Regions from separate parts of the Homo sapiens genome. Here all the other regions are linked to region 2. Evidence: promoter capture Hi-C in human tissues and cell types (Jung and others, 2019). All regions are on one chromosome and are shown on one strand. The core of a region is centred on a gene start or on the middle of the fragment in contact, and the rest is flanking DNA. Distances in the headings are between cores, read along the strand shown.

Evidence for each region. Contacts are between HindIII fragments. The study calls those that stand out against the background at their distance.
Region 1: a contact is called between a fragment that was not itself captured here and the fragment with the promoter of GLDC in region 2, in 3 of the 25 tissues and cell types used here (H1 embryonic stem cells, hippocampus and lymphoblastoid cells).
Region 3: a fragment that was not itself captured here is called in contact with the fragment with the promoter of GLDC in region 2 in 2 of the 25 tissues and cell types used here (aorta and mesendoderm cells).

What each region holds. Positions count from the first base shown.
Region 1 is chr9:6,570,504-6,573,341 of GRCh38, forward strand. All of the region lies in intron 15 of GLDC (glycine decarboxylase), which reads right to left. Among named protein-coding and RNA genes, the nearest start is that of GLDC, 74 kb to the right of the region's middle. The HindIII fragment of the contact is 9,762 bases long and covers 1-2,838 here.
Region 2 is chr9:6,644,479-6,647,519 of GRCh38, forward strand. GLDC (glycine decarboxylase) reads right to left here and starts at 1,251. Exons shown (of 25, transcript NM_000170.3): 1 at 767-1,251; 2 at 136-214. The coding sequence starts at 1,021. RefSeq lists enhancers at 461-1,018, 1,999-2,108, 2,159-2,258 and silencers at 699-768, 809-1,008, 1,079-1,328. The HindIII fragment of the contact is 11,104 bases long and covers 1-3,041 here.
Region 3 is chr9:6,517,294-6,520,462 of GRCh38, forward strand. No RefSeq gene overlaps it. Among named protein-coding and RNA genes, the nearest start is that of UHRF2, 110 kb to the left of the region's middle. The HindIII fragment of the contact is 4,034 bases long and covers 1-3,169 here.

The DNA of each region.
Region 1 (2,838 bases), core at 69-2,568, 74 kb before region 2:
CATTGAAGTTATTTATAAGCAGTGGACCTATTTTACTTCTTATATTTGAACTTCTTAAGAAGTTTCTTGACCAGGCATGGTGGCTCATGCCTGTAATCCCAGCACTTTGGGAGGCTGAGACGGGCAGATCACCTGAGGTCAGGAGTTCGAGACCAACCTGGCCAACATGGCGAAACTTCGTCTCTACTAAAAATACAAAAATTAGCTGGGCGTTGTGGCAGGTGCCTGTAATCCTAGCTACTCAGGAGGGTGAGACAAGAGAATCACTTGAACCCAGCAGGTGGAGGTTCCAGTGAGCTGAGATCGCACCACTGCACTCCAGCCTGCGCAACAAGAGCAAAACTCTGTCTCAAAAAAAAAAAAAAAAAAAGTTTCTCGGGGTATGTTTTTAAAAAAAATATTTTATTACATTTAAAATGATACCTTTTCATGAAAAATATTTATTTTATGAGTGATAAATTATAAGTTTAAATATGAGGTGAATTTGTTCCCTTCAACTACCTATAATATCTATAGCATCCAGCATACAGCCCTTTGTACAAAATGTAACATTTAGAAGCTAAAATATACATCATCCTCCCCCAAAATAATGATTTTCTTATAGACACAAGCAAGATTATTCTAAAATGCATATGTAAAGGCAAAGTAACTGGAATAGCTACTTTTTTTAAAAAAAAAAGAAAGAAACTGGCACAAATCAGTTCATCTGATGGCAAGGCTTATTAACAGTAGCCCCCTCTTATCTGCAGGAAATATCTTCCGGGACACCCAGTGGGTGCCTGAAACCATGGATGGCACCCAAACCCAGGTGTACTACGATTTTTCCTATACATACATACCTATGATAAAATCTAACTTATAAATTAGGCACAGTTACAGATTAACAACAATAACTAAGAATAAATAGAACAATTACACCACCATACCAGTATCACTACTCTTGTGCTTTGGGTACACTACTAAATAAAATAAGGGTTCCTTGCAATGAGACATTGCAGTGAGATCGTGCCACTGTACGATTTCACTGTTCCTTGAAAGCGCTGTGATAACATAGCAGTTGATCTGGTAACCAAGGCAGCTACTAAGTGACTGATGGGTGGGTAGCATATACACAGTGGATATGCTGGACAAAGGGCTGATTTACATCCCAGGTGGGATGGAACAAGATGCTGCAGGGTTTCATCACACTATTTAGAATGGTGTACAATTTAAAACTTAGGATGAATTGCTTATTTCTCAAATTTTCCATTTAATATTTTTGAGCCAGTTGACCATGGGTAACTGAAACTGCAAATAAGTGGGGACTATCATATATAGCTACAATAATCAAGCCTATGTACACAGAGATCACACATAGATCAATGGAATAGAATATAGAATCCAGAAATAGATCCAAACAAATATACCCAACTATTTTTGACAAAGTTGCAAAAGTAATTCAATGGAGGAAAGATCGCCTTTTCAATAAATGGAACTGAAACACTTAGACATCCATAGGCACAATCTAAGTCTCACAGCTTATATAAAAATCACCTGTAAATGGATCATGGACTTAAATGTAAAACATAAAACTATGAAATTTCTGGGAAAAACAAAAAACAGAATAAAAATTGTTGGGATCTAGGGTAGATTTGAAACCCAAAGCACAATTCATAAAAGAAAAAAATTGATAAATTGAACTCCATCATAATTAAAAACTTTTTGCTCCCATTAGGGTTACAAGGACAAGCTACAGAACGGGAGAAAGTATCTGCAAACTACCATAGCCAACGAGCAGTAAGTACAAATGCAATTCAGAAAATGATGCTGGGAAAATGACATGTGGACATGCTGTCAATGTGCTTAAAAGTACGAAGGAGGGTTACATTAGGATGTTGAAAATCAACTGGGTTTTCATTGGTGCTGAGTTTAGAGGTGTGTGTGGGAATGCAGAGCCTTTCAGTGGCTTTATTATCTGGGGGAATTCCCTCTTTTGTGTGAGTCTATGGGAGAGACACGGTCCTACACTCCCCTATGAAAGCAAAAAGGATTAGACATTCCCAGTCACTAAACACTAATAAGACATGGAGGTGTGAAACATCCTGTGCAATACTCCAGCCAGGACATTATGAATCTGGATGGACAGACCAAAGGAATGGGACAGTTCCATATTTCCCACAGTGAAGATGGTGACTCTTCGCATGGTGAGACTCCATTTTCTTCTCTGCTGCCAGCCTTTCTTGGGTCTTACTCACTGCTGAAGTCTAATTCTCCAGCTTTTCCATCAACTCTGTGAACTGCCCAATAACTTCCCTGTAAATTATTTTTCTGCTGAAGTTAATGCAAGCCATTTTCTGTTGTTTGCAAACAGGAGCCCTTAGGTGGCACATACTGTTAAATGTTTCCTACAACAAGATCATGTTAAAGTCACTCATTCCCAGGCAGATCTCACAAACAGGTATTTCCTGCAGCCACCCGGGAGTTTCTCTCACCTCTAATATCAAAGTTGTTTTTTATTTGCTGCCCTTTTCAAAGCTGTCTGGCTCCAAGCAAATTATTCCTCTGGATCCCATCTGTCACGTGGACATAATGCTATCTATTTCACAGGTGAACTTAAAATTTTTATGATAGAATACATTTATGTGGGCCAGGCATGGTGGCTCACGCCTGTAATCCCAGCTACTAGGGAGGCTGAGACACAAGAATCGCTGTAATCCCAGCACTTTGGGAGGCTGAGGCAGGTGGAGGCAGGTGGATCACCTGAGGTCAGGAGTTCAAGATCAGCCTGGCCAACATGGAGAAACCCTGTCTCTAATAAAAATACAAAAATTAGCCAGGTGTGGTGGCACACACCTGTAA
Region 2 (3,041 bases), core at 1-2,500:
CCGCCACTGTTTTATTTTAATCCACACATTCCCAGTCCTGAGCAATCCTTACCCCAGAGCTCGATTTTCAGGGAACCACAAAAGACAAATAGGCCAGAATAATCTAAGTCCAAGGGAGCCCTCCCGGCCACTTACAAACAGGGTCTTCCATTTTCAAGGGTCTTTTCAAACGGATGTTGGCAGGGACCGTCTTCTCGATCAATTCATCAATGCTCTAAAATTAAAACGCAAGGCAGAGGAAAGTGCCTCTGAGTTAAAAGAGTCACCTCTGTGTTTTGCGACTACAAAGCCTTGTGGGAACCTCATTGAAATCGCCTAATTAGGGTTCTTTTTAAAAGAAAAGGAAAACTCTGAGCAAGCCAGAATGATTTGGAGGAAAGAAAATCGTGAAGTGGGGTGGAGATTCCGCCACTCGGGGTTGGATTTCAGTTGCAACCGGAGCTAACCGGTAAGCCCACTCTTAATCAGGGGGTCTTCCTCCTCTTGCAAAGTTTAGGTCCATCCACAGGGCCACTTGGGCTGGGGGTGGTTTAAAAATGTACACTTTTGAGGCACGAAGACTGGGTGCAGGAGAAAGTAAGCTGTTAAGAAGTAAGAAGGCACGAGGACCAAAGGCACGAATTTGCTTCCACGCCACGGCCCGGGACCCAGGGTGCGGGGACCACGCGGAGCGCAGCAGAGCTCAGGGTAGGAGCCGGGAGGCCGCGCAGGCAGAGCCCGGGCAGGGCGGAGGGGAGGCCGCGGAGGGCCGGGTGGAGGTCCTTACCGCCAGCCCCAAGGTCTGCAGCATCTCTCTCTGGTCTTTGTCCCCAGGGCCGATGTGCCTCCGAGCGAAGTCGTCGTGTCTGGGCAGAAGGCGCTCCAGGAGGCGCGAGGCCCCAGCCGCGGCGCTGTCCCCGCCGCCACTGCTGCTGTCCCGGCTCCGCGGCGCCCAGCACGGCCCCGATCCCCCAGCCAGGCGGCGGCCGCCCCCGACCCCGCGGCCCAGGCGCAGCCCCCACGCCCTGGCACAGGACTGCATGGCCGCGGCCACCGTCCCCTGCCCCGGCCCGCAAGGGTCAGCCGCGCTCTTGGCCCCTCTCCTGGCCTCGGTCCCCCGGGTGGCGGCTGCGCCCGGCCTGGAGCCCCTTTCGCTGGACAGTCGGCCGGACAGATGGATGGACGCTCGCGGGCAATGAATGGGCGCTGCGCTCAACCAAGACACTCGCGCAAAGTTGTGGCTCCACCCAAGGCACCTGCTCCGCACACTTTAAGCGGCGCCCTGGAGGCGGGAGGTGGGTTGGGGCCAGGAAGCCCTTGGCCAATGAAAGTAGACAGAGGGGGAGGGGGCGGAACAGTTCCCGCCCCCGCCCCCTCTTCCTACCCTCTTCCCAGCCCTTCCGTGGAGTCCCGCTTCCCCTGGACCGGAGGCTGCCATCTCCAGTCCTACCCACTCCGACGCTGGCTGGTGCCGGGGGCCGGGACGCTCCGTACGCCGCCCGCCAGGGTGTGGAGCCGCACTGGGGCAAGATCAGGTGGGACAGCCCAAAGACTCCGGGCCAAGTTCCTGGGGGACTCGGCGGAGATGGAAGATGATTCTCGAAGCTCTCCATTTCCTTAATTTTGAGGTATCTTTCTCTGTCACATTTCATCTCAGGGAAATTAATATGGGCAGATGGCGGTTCTTTTATCTTTGCGGGAGCGTGATAAAGTTACTCAACCTCTCAGAGCTTCAGTTTTCTCATCTCAACAGAGCTGGATGGGATTTTAAAAAGAGATTATATGTACATGGAAAGCACTTGAACAGTAGATTTGAACACCCTCTCTATATTTCTTTTCTTTTCTTTCTTCCTTCTTTCTCCTCCTCCTCCTCCTCCTCCTTCTTCTCACTCTCTCTCTTTCTCTCTCTTCCCCCCCACCACATGTAACGCTATGGCTCACGCCTGTAATCGCAACACTTTCGGAAACCGACGCGGTAGGATAGCTTGAGCCCAGGAGTTCGAGACCAGCTTGGGCAGCATTGTGAAACCCTGTCTCTACAAAAAATACAAAAATTAGTGGGGCGTGGTTGCGTGCTTCTGAAGTCCCAGCTACTCTGGAGGCTGAGGTGGGAGGATTGCTTGAGTCAGGGAGTTTCAGGCTGCAGTGAGATGTGATCGCACCACTGCACTCCAGCGTGGGCCACAGAACGAGACTCAGGAAAAAAAAAAAAAAAAGAACTGTGTGTGTGTGTGTATATGTTTTTTTAAATATATGTACTGTATATACATATACGTGTGTGTGTAAAACTACAAAGGATATTTTGTTGTTGTTTTTGAGACGGAATCTCGCTCTGTCGCCCTGGCTGGAGTGCAGTGGCGCGATCTTGGCTCACTGCAACCTCCACCTCCCGGGTTCAAGCGATTGTCCTGCCTCAGGCTCCTGAGTAGCTGGGACTACAGGCACGTGCCACCACGGCCGGCCATTTTTTATTTTTATTTTTAGTAGAGACGGGGTTTCACCGTTTTAGGCAGGATGGTCTCGATCTCCTGACCTCGTGATCCGTCATTACAGGCGTGAGCCACTGCGCCCAGCAAAAGTACAAAGGATATTAAGATAGACATTGTTCACTGTCGTCTTACTTTGAAAGTTAGCCATCTAGAACTGGATTTTTTGTAAATGTACCATCTCCAGCTGTCTCATGACAGTTTTAGCAAGAGAATGAACTTTTAAAATTCCAGTTGTTCTAATATGGGGAAGAGAGGACAGAAGTAATCAGAACATTACTTGTACTTAGACTAGGGGAAAATAAAACCTGTTCTCTTTCTTGCTTATCTGCTAAGTTTCCTCCTCCAATCACCCTTAACAGATTCTGGGCTCCGTACCCAGGAGGCACAGACTATCCAGAGAGGCAGGAAAGTAGAGATGGAAAAGAGGGCAGGAAAATACACCACAAAGAACAGTAGGTAAAATGTCTGTATGGCAGACGGAGGCGGGTGGTGAGCTAGGACGGCTGGGCTGAATGTCTCCGAAAAGTTTTTCGGCCATTTGGAATTGAAATTACAACCTTCATAAAAGTTGGG
Region 3 (3,169 bases), core at 179-2,678, 130 kb before region 2:
TAAAGAATCAATTTCTGTGGCTCCCTTTCCTCTTCAGTCCTACTTCAATCTCTACTTGGGGTGGATGGGGTGCTGCCTTTTTGCAGCCAATCACTCAGTGCAGGGCAGGCATAGTCTACAAGGGTCCACTCCACAGTCTTGGCCAGACCCAGTGACCAGGAAGAATGGGTGTGGTTTTCTCCCATGGTGTTCATGTGGAGTAGGCAGGTTTTTTTCTCCTGCGGCGTTACCCCTTTTCCCATTCATTTGGCTTTTTTTCTTTGTCTGTATCCATTGATGTTTTCTGGTTGTAGACCATTGCACCCAAGCCAAAAGAAAGCAAAAGAAGGCAAAAAGTAAGTATAGGAAAGACCCCAGGAAGCTTACTCCCAGGATATTCCACATATCCGAGAGTGCCTAGATTTTATTTATAATTAGCAAGAGGAATAGACTGGAATATACTTGGCTCCATCTTGTGTGGAATTTGAAGTGCCCAAAGCAGCCTTTCAAAGACAGATTTTTAATCTAAGAAACCATAACACTGTACCACAAATGAACTCTATTTCAGAGAAAACTGATATTTCATTTTATTCATTTATTTATTTATTTATTTTTGAGACGGAGCCTCACTCTGTCGCCGAGGTTGGAGTGCAGTGGTGCGATCTTGGCTCATTGCAACCTTCGCCTCCGGGGTTCAAGTGATTATCCTGCCTCAGCCTCCCAAGTAGCTGGGACTACAGGTGCACACCACCATATCCAGCTGTTTTTTTGTATTTTTTAGTAGAGCCAGGGTTTCACCGTGTTGGTCAGAATGGTCTTCATCTCCTGACCTCGTGATCCACCCGCCTTGGCCTCCCAAAGTGCTGGGATTACAGGTGTGAGCCACTGCACCTGGCCTAAGAAAAATAATATTTATTAAACACCTATGTGTCTTTAGTATATGACAGACTTCCCAACAACGTGACAAAGAAGCTATTTCTTTTGTTATTATAGCTAAACACTTCCAGCAGAAGGAAAGTAACATCTATGCTATGCTCTATGCTTATTGAGGTTTTTGTTTTTAAAATATGGAAACGACAAATACTGTAGCATGCAGATTATTCAGTATTGGTCGTTGTTAAGTACTTATTTCTTAAATAAAAGAATAAGACCAGGCGCGGTGGCTCACACCTGTAATCCCAGCACTTTGGGAGGCCGAAGTGGGTGGATCACCTGAGTTCAGGAGTTCGAGACCAGCCTGACTAACATGGTGAAACCCTGTCTCTACTAACAGTACAAAAATTAGCCGGGCATCGTGGCAGGCATCCAAGAGACCAAGGCAGGAGAATCACTTGAACTCAGGAGGAGGAGGTTGCAGTGAGCCAAGGGCATGTCACTGCACTCCAGCTTGGGCGACAAGAGCAAAACTCCATCTCAAAAAAAAAAAAAAAAAAAAAAGAAAGAATAAAATAATACAAATGAAGCTGACATACTTTCAGTCACACTTCCCATTCCCCTCCGTACCCAAGACATTACTGCAAAATTCTTGATACCTTTTCAGTGTTTTTTTATACTTAATGCACCTATGTACAGGTCTCAATAAACAAAATGTAGGTATTTCAAGTGTTATAATGAAAACATACAAATGATATATTGCTTGTATTCTAAACTTCTTTTTTCATTCACCTTTATCCTTTAGCATAGTCTTGTCTTTTAATGGGTAAGCTTTGTCTCTTTATGTTTAAGACAAGTAGCTCACACTAGTTTTACTTCCCTCCAAATTATCTTTTTTTAAATTTATTTTTATTTTTTATTATACTTTAAGTTCTAGGGTACATGTGCACAACATGCAGGTTTGTTACATATGTATACATGTGCCATGTTGGTGTGCTGCACCCATTAACTCATCATTTACATTAGATATATCTCCTAATGCTATCCCTCTCCCCTCCCCCCGACCCCATGACAGGCCCCGGTGTGTGACGTTCCCCTTCCTGTGTCCAAGTGTTCTCATTGTTCAATTCCCACCTATGATTGAGAACATGCGGTGTTTGGTTTTTTGTCCTTGTGATAGTTTGCTGAGAATGATGGTTTCCAGCTTCATCCATGTCCCTACAAAGGACATTAACTCATCCTTTTTTATGGCTGCATAGTATTCCATGGTGCATATGTGCCACATTTTCTTAATCCAGTCTATCATTGTTGGACATTTGGGTGAGTTCCAAGTCTTTGCTATTGTGAATAGTGCCGCAATAAACATACATGTGCATGTGTCTTTATAGCAGCATGATTTATAATCCTTTGGGTATATACCCAGTAACGGGATGGCTGGGTCAAATGGTATTTCTAGTTCTAGATCCTTGAGGAATCACCACACTGTCTTCCACAATGGTTGCACTAGTTTACAGTCCCATCAACAGTGTAAAAGCATTCCTATTTCTCCACAGCCTCTGCAGCACCTGTTGTTTCCTGACTTTTTAATGTTCACCATTCTACCCAGTATGAGATGGTATCTCATTGTGGTTTTGATTTGCATTTCCCTGATGGCCAGTGATGATGAACATTTTTTCATGTGTCTATTGGCTGCATAAATGTCTTCTTTTGAGAAGTGTCTGTTCACATCCTTTGCCCACTTTTTGATGGGGTTGTTTGTTTTTTTCTTGTAAGTTTGTTTGAGTTCTTTGTAGATTCTGGATATTAGCCGTTTGTCAGATGAGTAGATTGCAAAAATTTTCTCCCATTCTGTAAGTTGCCTGTTCACTCTGATGGTCTCTTTTGCTGTGAAGAAGCTCTTTAGTTTAATGAGATCCCATTTGTCAATTTTGGCTTTTGTTGTCATTGCGTTTGGTGTTTTAGTCATGAAGTCCTTGCCCATGCCTATGTCCTGAATGGTATTGCCTGGGTTTTCTTCTAGGGTTTTTATGGTTTTAGGTCCAACATTTAAGTCTTTAATCCATCTTGAATTAATTTTTGTATAAGGTGTAAGGAAGGGATCCAGTTTCAGCTTTCTACATATGGCTAGCCAGTTTTCCCAGCACCACTTATTAAATAGAGAATCCTTTCCCCATTTCTTGTTTTTGTCAGGTTTGTCAAAGATCAGATGGTTGTAGATGTGTGGTGTTATTTCTGAGGGCTCTGTTCTGTTCCATTGGTCTATATCTCTCTTTTGGTACCAGTACCATGCTGTTTTGGTTACTGTAGCCTTGTAGTA